Regions from separate parts of the Homo sapiens genome. Here region 1 is linked to region 2. The links are contacts of gene promoters, found by promoter capture Hi-C in human tissues and cell types (Jung and others, 2019). All regions are on one chromosome and are shown on one strand. Each heading gives the region's core, a stretch centred on a gene start or on the middle of the fragment in contact. The rest is flanking DNA. Distances are from core to core; before and after follow the strand shown.

Evidence for each region. The method cuts DNA at HindIII sites, captures the fragments that hold promoters and counts their contacts. A contact is called where the count stands out against the background at its distance.
Region 1: a fragment that was not itself captured here is called in contact with the fragment with the promoter of PRDX3 in region 2 in 2 of the 25 tissues and cell types used here (mesenchymal stem cells and spleen).

What each region holds. Positions count from the first base shown.
Region 1 is chr10:119,222,226-119,226,832 of GRCh38, forward strand. The region is part of intron 1 of GRK5 (G protein-coupled receptor kinase 5); the gene reads left to right. Among named protein-coding and RNA genes, the nearest start is that of GRK5-IT1, 16 kb to the left of the region's middle. RefSeq lists an enhancer at 148-659. The HindIII fragment of the contact is 5,772 bases long and covers 1-4,607 here.
Region 2 is chr10:119,175,817-119,180,120 of GRCh38, forward strand. It overlaps PRDX3 (peroxiredoxin 3), which reads right to left and starts at 2,996. Exons shown (of 7, transcript NM_006793.5): 1 at 2,939-2,996; 2 at 1,205-1,337. The coding sequence starts at 2,974. RefSeq lists enhancers at 1,875-2,519, 2,519-2,998 and a silencer at 3,029-3,138. The HindIII fragment of the contact is 15,713 bases long and covers 1-4,304 here.

The sequences.
Region 1 (4,607 bases), core at 900-3,399, 46 kb after region 2:
CGTTTTTCGTGTTTGAGAGCTTTTGCGTTTCATTGTACATTGTACAATTCTAGGGAGCCATTGTTCCCATCCTAAAGCTGGTAGATGTGTAAATGTATCAGGTCGGGGGGCAGAAAGTGTCTTGAGGAAGGGACGCCCCTTCCTAATCCCCTCCAAGTGCTGCCTGTGCTGGTGTCAGTCCTCCTGAGGTCATTTGCCCTGTCTTTGATCTGGCACAGTATCCTCCTCTGTGGAATTCTGTAGCTCTTCCTCTGGTAACTGCTTTCACTAAAGGTTTGCATGGAATTTACCTAGACAAGGGCCCTACGGTTCCCACCTGAGAATAGAAAACGCCCATTAAAAACAGCACCACACAAAACAAATCAGTGGCCCCTCCTCCTGCTCTGCCTCCCTCCGAGATAAGCTTGGCATGAGGGCATAGTCCAGAGCCCCACGGCCTTCAGTAATTTTGTTAACAATTGGAGGAGAATGGCATTTTCTTCTGGGAAACATTTGCAGATGTGTGAGCTAGCTCTACATGGGGAAGGGCTGCCCCTTCACTGCGTGCTGAGGCTACGGGCTCCGTGTCCTGTCAGAGTGTGGGAGGGAGCTCCTCACACTGAAGCCAGCTCCTTCCTTCCGCAAAGAAGGGATCTGAGGGCCAAAAGGGGCCCGCATGGGTGGCCGTGCAGGAGCAGAAAGAGGCTCCAAAGCAGGATGGGTCCCCTGGCCTGGATTTTCCTCCAGGGCAGCTCTGCAACTCTAACACCCATCCCCAGGCTGTGTGTTTCCTAGGGATACGTAATAAAGTGCCACCAACTGGGTGGTTTAGAACAACAGACATCTATTGTCGCACAGTTCTGGAGGCCAGACGTTTGAAATCAAGGTGTGTGCAGGGCCGTGCTCCCTCTGAAGGTACCCGGGGAAGACCCGTTCCAGGCCTCTCTCCTTGGCTTGTTGGTGGCTGTCTTCTCCCTGTGCGTCTTCCTCTTGTGCATCTGTCCCTGTGTCCAGAGTTATCCTTTGTATAAGGACACCAGTGCTATTGGATCATGGCCCACTTGAATGACCTCATGTTAACTTGATTACCTCCATAAAGATCCTATTTCCAAATAAAGTCACATTCTGAGGTACCGGGGGTTAGGACTTCAACATAATCTTCTTTGGAGGACGCAGTGAACCCTGGAACACAGGCCCTGCCTGTACTGAAGCAGCAGCTTTTGGGGATAGCCTGTATTTTTAAAACAGGAGGTTCTGAGGATGAACCAGGCGTGGGAACTGCTGCTCTATAGAACCCTGGAGCTGGTGGGTTTTCTGAGTGCCTTCTGAGATTATCTTGGACATCCAGACTACTCTGACCGGGTCCCCAAATAGGACTCTGCAGGTTCCCTGGCAGTTGGTTTCTGTCTTCTGCTCAAATATTTCTAGAGACGGGGAGCTCATACCTTCTTCTAAGCAGCCTATCCGATTTTAAACCACTGGATTAAAAATATCTATAATAATATATATATATTATATATATCTATATATATTAGATAGGCTTCTTGCCTCACCCACTAAATTGTAGACTTCCTGAGGGCTGACACCAGGGCTTTTTCTTTGTATCTTACTGGAACTAACGAGATGCTAAAAGTAAACCCAAGTCGGCCTGTGGAGACCTGGTATGTCTGGTGCCATGTTAACCCATTAGGTCCTGGTTCTGCTCTTTGGAGGTATCCAGGATAAATGCACCACTCTTTGCCTGAGGGGGCCCTTCTAATATTAGAAGACAACTATGATACCCACTGTAGAACTAAAAGCAGAACCCCAAGTCCGGCACGGTGGCACTCACCTGTAGTCCCAGCTACTCCCAAGCCAGGAAGATCACTTGAGCCAGGAGTTCTGGGCTGCAGTGTGCTATGCACTGCACTCCAGTGAATAGCCACTGCACTCCAATCTGGGCAACAGAGTGAGACCCTGTCTCTTAAAAAACAAACAAACAAACAAACATAGCCAGAACCCTGCCCTCCAGATTCCCAGACTGGGCTCTCATTGTGCATTGCAGCCAAGTAACAGACATAACCAACCTTAGGATAGGATTTATTAGCAGGTGGGAATGATGTTGTTGCTAACATCTGGCAAAGCTCAAGGCTTCATAACTTGCCAGAAGTGAGATCCAGTCACCCACTATTTATTTATTAATTTATTATTTATTTATTTATTTATTTATTTATTTATTTATTGAGACGGAGTGTTGCTCTGTCGCCCAGGCTGGAGTGCAATGGCACGATCTCGGCTCACTGCAACCTTCTGCCTCCCAGGTTCAAGCGGTTCTCTTGCCTCAGCGCCCCGAGTAGCTGGGATTACAGGCGCCCGCCACCATGCCCGGCTAACTTTTGCATTTTTTTTTAGTAGAGATGGGGTTTCACCATGTTGGTCAGGCTGGTCTCGAACTTCTGACCTCAGGTTATCCAACTGCCTTGGCCTTACAAAGTGCTAGGATTACAGGCGTGAGCCACTGCGCCCAGCCTAGTCACCCACTTTTTAATTTTCGAGGTAATATGGTATCTTCTCCTGCTGTGCATTGAGGCAAGATGTTTCCATTCCATTGAAAGCTTGATCAAGGTTCTATGAGAAGTTCAAAGGGAAAAGGAGAGTGTGCCACTCATGTGCTGTGTGGCTCCTCTCCAAGCAAAACCATCCTCAGCTGCATAAATGTGCAGCTTGGCCAGGTGATCCTGGAGTCTCTTCTCACCCTTCAAATCTTGAGAATTTGCAGGTGCATTTTCCACTGATAATTCAACTGTGGGTACTTCAGAATAAAATTTGATGTTAATTTGAAGAGCAGGCATTACACATTAAAACAAAAATTACCCCAAGGGAAGAATGAGAGCCAAGAGGGGTTACATTTGTAGTAGAAATAAACAGGAAAAAAACCCGCCACTGCTAATTGAACTGATTCTCGCAATCCAAGAAAGGCAAATGCATGATTCTAATGTTTTCTTTAGTAGATTACAGAAAGGAAGATTAAATCAAAAGTCAAAAATAAACAGTTTGATTATCCTACACTGTATTATCTTAATAAACTGTCTTCCTGGAAAGTTTAAAAATACACAGTACTTCATCTGGCCAAAGAAAACAGTAAGTAAATATTGTTGAGAAAATGTAAGAATTTTCCATCTAGATGTGAGGGGTGGAAATATTGCCATGTGGACTTCAAGACATCCCACAAGGAGTGAGAGAGTGATAGGTATTACCTACCTTTTAAGGCTTGTTGTCGGGGACACTGTTGTCACATACGGGGGAAGAGGTTGGGAGGGGAATGGGCCCTATCAAGCACTCTTCTGGGCTCCTGGCAAAACCTCACCCAGTTCTGCATTCTCCTGCAAGGTTTGTCTAGATACTAGCTGTATCCTGACTGGTGATGCTCAGATTTCATAGTTTAGGGTGATGTGGAGAGGACTGCTGATTTTCTTCTCTCTCTCTCTTTTTTTTTTTTTTTTTTGAGATAGAGTCTCGCTCTGTCACCCAGGCTGGAGTGCAATGGCGCGATCTTGGCTCACTGCAACCTCCTCCTCCTGGGTTCAAGCAATTCTCCTGTCTCAGCCTCCTGAGTAGCTGGGACTACAGGCATGCACCACTGTGCCCGGCTAATTTTTGTATTTTTTTTTCTTTTTTTTTTTGAGATGGAGTCTCGCTCTGTCACCCAGGCTGGTGTGCAGTGGCATGATCTTGGCTCACTGCAAGCTCCGCCTCCCGGGTTCACGCCATTCTCCTGCTTCAGCCTCCCGTGTAGCTGGGACTACAGGTGCCCGCCACCATGCCTTGCTAATTTTTGTATTTTTAGTAGAGATGGTGTTTCACCATGTTGGCCAGGATGGTCTCGATCTCCCGACCTCATGATCCACCCGCTTCAGCCTCCCAAAGTGCTGGGATTACAGGCATGAGCCAGCACCCGGCTAATTTTTGTATTTTTAATAGAGACGAGGTTTCATCATATTGGCCAGTCTGGGCTCGAACTCCTGACCTTGTGATCTGCCCGTCTCGGCTCCCCAAAGAGCTGGGATTACAGGTGTGAGCCACTGTGCCTGGCATCTTCTTCTTTTTCTTTTTTTTTTTTTTAATTTTAATTTTTTTTTTTTTTTTGAGATGAAGCCTAACTCTGTCACCCAGGCTGGAGTGCAGTGGAGCAATCTCGGCCCACTGCAACCTTTGCCTCCCAGGTTCAAGCGTGCTGATTCTCTTCTGCTTAATTTTTCTACAGTTGGAAGTAGCAAAAGGTGGAGACTAGTGATGTGAGTTCTGTCCTAGCTTTGTTGCTAACCTGCCAGAGACCAAGGCTGGTAACTTTGTGTCTCTGTATCTTTTTTTTTTTTTTTTTGAGACACAGTCTCACGCTTGCCCAGGCTGGAGTACAGTGGTGCGATCTCGGCTCACTGCAATCTCTGCCTCCTGGGTTCAAGAGATTCCCTTGTCTCTGCCACCTGAGTAGCTAGGATTACAGGCGCCTGCTACCATGCCCGGCTTTTTTTTTTCTTTTTCTTTTTTTTGTATTTTTAGTAGAGATGGGGTTTCACCATGTTGGTCAGGTTGGTCTCAAACTCCTGACCTCAAATGACCCATCTGCCTCAGCCTCCCAAAGTGCTGGG
Region 2 (4,304 bases), core at 1,746-4,245:
CACCTAGGCTGGAGTGTAGTGGCATGGTCTCGGCTCACTGCAACCTCCGCCTCCCAGGTTCAAGCAATTCTCCTGCCTCAGCCTCCCAAGTAGCTGGGATTCCAGTAGCACACCACCACACCCGGCTTATTTTTTTTAAGTATTTTTAGTAGAGACGGGATTTCACCAGGTTGGCCAGGATGGTCTTGAACTCCTGACCTCAAGTAATTCGCCTGCCTTGGCCTCTCAAAGTGCTGGGATTACAGGTGTGAGCCACTGTGCCCAGCCTCGATTTCAGTGATCTTAGACGTATTGAGGGGAGGTATGGGGCAGAAAGAACAGAAAGGAATGGATGCAAGAGATGTGTCAAAACTGAAAAGGACTTGCTTCTACCCAGGAATGAGCGACAGAGTAGTTCCAATGTCAAAATGCCTGACACCGCCATGAACAGAAACAGGAGGCGCTGCTGGGGATGAGGATTCGAAACCAGTGGAGTAAAGTTTTAAGCCTGTGGTATCACATCACTACTAGAAATATTTTGAAGCTCCAGGGTAGTAAAATTGCGAAAGCTCTTAGAACATTTTGCCCACAAACAAAGGCTTTACTAAAGTATATCCCCACAAACCATTACATATTAAATACGGGCTTTTTCAAAGGCTAGTCAAATCTAGACAAGGTATTTTCAAATACCACTCATTATCTGAGGCTGATCTTAGCAAAGCCCATATCCTAGAGAAGGGAGTGTAAATCTCAAGAAACAGCTAAATTTCGCTCAGATTACAGATACCATTAGACAGGTCTGGTTCCTAAGTGGCCAGCTGGGGCCATTACACAGGTTTGAATCTTAGAGCAGCTGCCCTCTCAGGTCCCCCACAGGCTGCCCACCACTCACAGCTCTTCAGACACACTAGACTCAGAAGGCATCTGAGCTCCCAGTAACACCCTCCTCAACACAGTGGATTAGAAACTCTGACAACCAACATGGAAATGTGACAAGGGCAGTTTGCCTCAGTGATTCTCAACCCTGGCTGCACGTTAGAATCACCCGGCACATCCTGGTCTCACCCCACAGACTAACTTGTCTGGGGTGGGACGGGGGCAGTGCTGTGTTCCTGAAAGCTCCCAGGTGACTCTAACGTTTGGCCAGGGTTCAGAGCCCCTGTCCAGAGACGATGGTTCATTTTTCCTTTACCTGGCTCCAGCCAAGACATGACATAACACTTACTGGTGCTGAATAATTTTGCTTGACTGGAACCAGAACACAATAAATTTGTCAAGCTCGTTCTTCCACATGCAGCAGGCCTGAGGGCTGCAGTGGCAGAAATGCCCCAAGGAATGGCACTCACATGTCGGGCAACCTGGAAAGAGAAACTTTTTATTAGAAAGTTTTCCTGGACTGGTGACTGAAGGCTGAAAGGGCATCGTGCCAACGGTGGTTTCAGCTGTCCCTGTTCCTGTGAACCAAATAGCAAACCCCAAACTCTAAGAGCATGGATTGGATCTGCATGTTCTTAACACTCCCTTCTGCTTCCTTCTCCTAGGAGACTGGAAGGTGGAGAGGAACTATAAGAACACAAAGACCGGCTGGGCGCGGTTGCTCACACCTGTAATCCCAGCACTTTGGGAGGCCAAGACGGGTTGATCACCAGGTCAGGAGTTCGAGACCAGCCTGGCCAAGATGGTGAAACTCCATCTCTACTAAAAACACAAAACTTAGCCAGGCGGCGGTGGCGGGCACCTGTAATTCCAGCTGCTTGGGAGGCTGAGGCAGGAGAATTGCTTGAACCCGGGAGGCAGAGGTTGCAGAGCCGAGATCGCGCCATTGCACTCTAACCTGGGCGACAACTCCGTCTCAAAAAAAAAAAAAAAAAAAATCAGAAACTCCATGCGCTTAAAGCAACACAGGGTTCAGAAGCCAGGGGACTTGTGCAGGCTTTTCCCAGCACTATCTGCTGAGTATGTTCTACCATTTCAAGGTTTTCCTTAGAAAAACAAGGCCCCTCCAGCACCAGCGACAAGTAAACAAGAAGAGCCAAATTCAGCCTCTGGGAGTCTGTTAAAGGCTCAAGGGACATGTTTACTCAACTTTTTTTTTTTTTTTTTGAAACAGAGTCTCGCTCTTTTACCCAGGCTAGAGTGCAGTGGCGCGATCTCGGCTCGCTGCAGTCTCGACCTCCTGGGCTCAAGTGATCCTCCCACCTTAGCCTCCCCAGGAGCACTGACCACCATGCCCGGCTATTTTTTTTTTTAGAGACAAGGTCTCACTATTATTGTCCAGGCTGGTCTCAAACTCCTGGGCTCAAGTGATCTGCCCGCCTCGGCCTCCCAAAGTGCTAGGATTACAGGCGTGAGCCACCGCACTCTGCCGGTTTGCTCAACTTTAATGTTCAAAATGACTCAGGAGAACGAAAGGGGCTGTGTTGAACCCCACCAGAGAAAGCCGTGTACCAAAAGAGCACGACGCATTGCCCACAGTTAAGCAGGAAACAGCAGCAGAAACACGCGGGAGTGGGATTGGGAGGGAAAGCCTTTGTGAGTTTTTTAGCACTTTGCGCGTTTTTATCCAGTATTTAAGGGGCTGTTCACAGCAACGCCTTGATGTAGGCATCATTCTTTCCATCTTAAGTACACAGTCTGAGAAAGGCGAAGGCGCTTGCCCAAGATCACAGGGTCGGTGGCAGAATCAGGGCCAGGACCTTAAGTGGAGATGGGCCTGGGGACCGGGGACGCCGAAAGAGGAGGGACTCGGGGAAGAGACCGCGAGGATGGAGTGGGGAAGGGCGGTTCTGCGCAGGCGCATGGAACCTTCCCGGAGGGAGGCCTCTGGGTCCGTTACCCGCGGAAACCCTCCAAGAAGGGCGAATGGCCCTCATGCCCAGAAGCGCGGGGTCCTGTCTGAGAAGCACGTTCCCGGAGCCACCAGTGTCTCCACGCCTGTCCCCAGCCGACAGCCACTCACCGACGCTCGGAGCAACCGTCCTACAGCAGCCGCCATCTTCAGTGCACTCGGGCGCCACGGGGCGGGCAGAGACGCAGGGGCGGGGCCTACGGGGTGGTGAGCGGGCCCTCTGCTGGTGGGGGGGCGGGGCCGGAGGAGCCACCGCCTCCCCGCCTCCTGGAGACCCTGAGGGAGAAATTCCCTTTAAGGCTGAATGCTTGGGCAAGTGACACGTGGTTTTCCTACTGTCGCCCCAACCTTAAAAGAACGAATCCAGGCGGGGCATTAGGTATTTGTTTCCATATTTCCCACTGTTTTGTTAACCTTGTGTGGATTACTGTGTCTAGTATTTCTGTGACAGGATCCCTTTCTTATTTCAGCCTCAGGTAGAGACTTCCGGCTTCTGTATGAAATGGAATTAATTACAAATGCAGTTTTAGTCCGTTAATAAGCTAAGTGGGCTAGACACATCAAGGCTTTGTTGGCCTGAAATCCGCTGGAATTGTGTGTGGTCTAACATTTGGCCTCTCTTCCCAAAATTGGGAAAACTGGGACAAATTTAAAATTTGGTTTTTGTCTATTAATGAAGCCAAGTGTTCAGTGGTGAGCATAGTACTTGAAGCAACCACATCAAACATAGATAAAAATCACACCGTGGCCTTACAGTAAGTGTGACAAATTGCAGTCTTGGAGCTGGTATTTTCTTTTCTCTTTTCTTTTCTTTTCTTTTTTTTTTTTTTTGAGACTGGGTCTTGCTCTGTCGCCCAGGCTGGAGTGCAGTGGCATGATCTTGGCTCACTGCAACCTCTGCCTCCCGGGTTCAAGCGATTCTCCTGCCTGAGCTTCATGAGTAATTGGGATTCCTGAGCAGCTGGGATTACAGCCGCCTGCCACCATGCCCAGTTAAGTTTTTGTATTTTAAGTAGAGATGGGGTTTCACCATGTTGGCCAGGCTGGTCTCAAACTCCTGACCTCAAGTGATCCGCCCACCTCGGCCTCCCAAAGTGCTGGGATGATAGGCATGAGCCACTGCACCCGGTCTGAGTTGGTATTTTCCAATCACTAGTCATTCAATTAGCAACTTCGTTTCTCAAGTCTTCTTATCACCAAATATCACTTACTATTTTCTTTAAATTGGCTTTCTTTTTTTTTTTTCCTTTTCTTTTTTGAGACAGAGTCTCACTCTGTCGTCCAGGCTAGAGTGCAGTGGCACAATCTCGGCTCACTGCAACCTCTACCTCCTTGGTTCGAGCGATTCTTCTGGCTCAGCCTCTCGAGTAGCTGGGATTACAGGCGTGCACCACTAAACCCGGCTAATTTTTTTAGTATTTTTAGTAGAGATGGGGTTTCACCATATTGGCTAGGCTGGTCTTGAACTCCTGACATC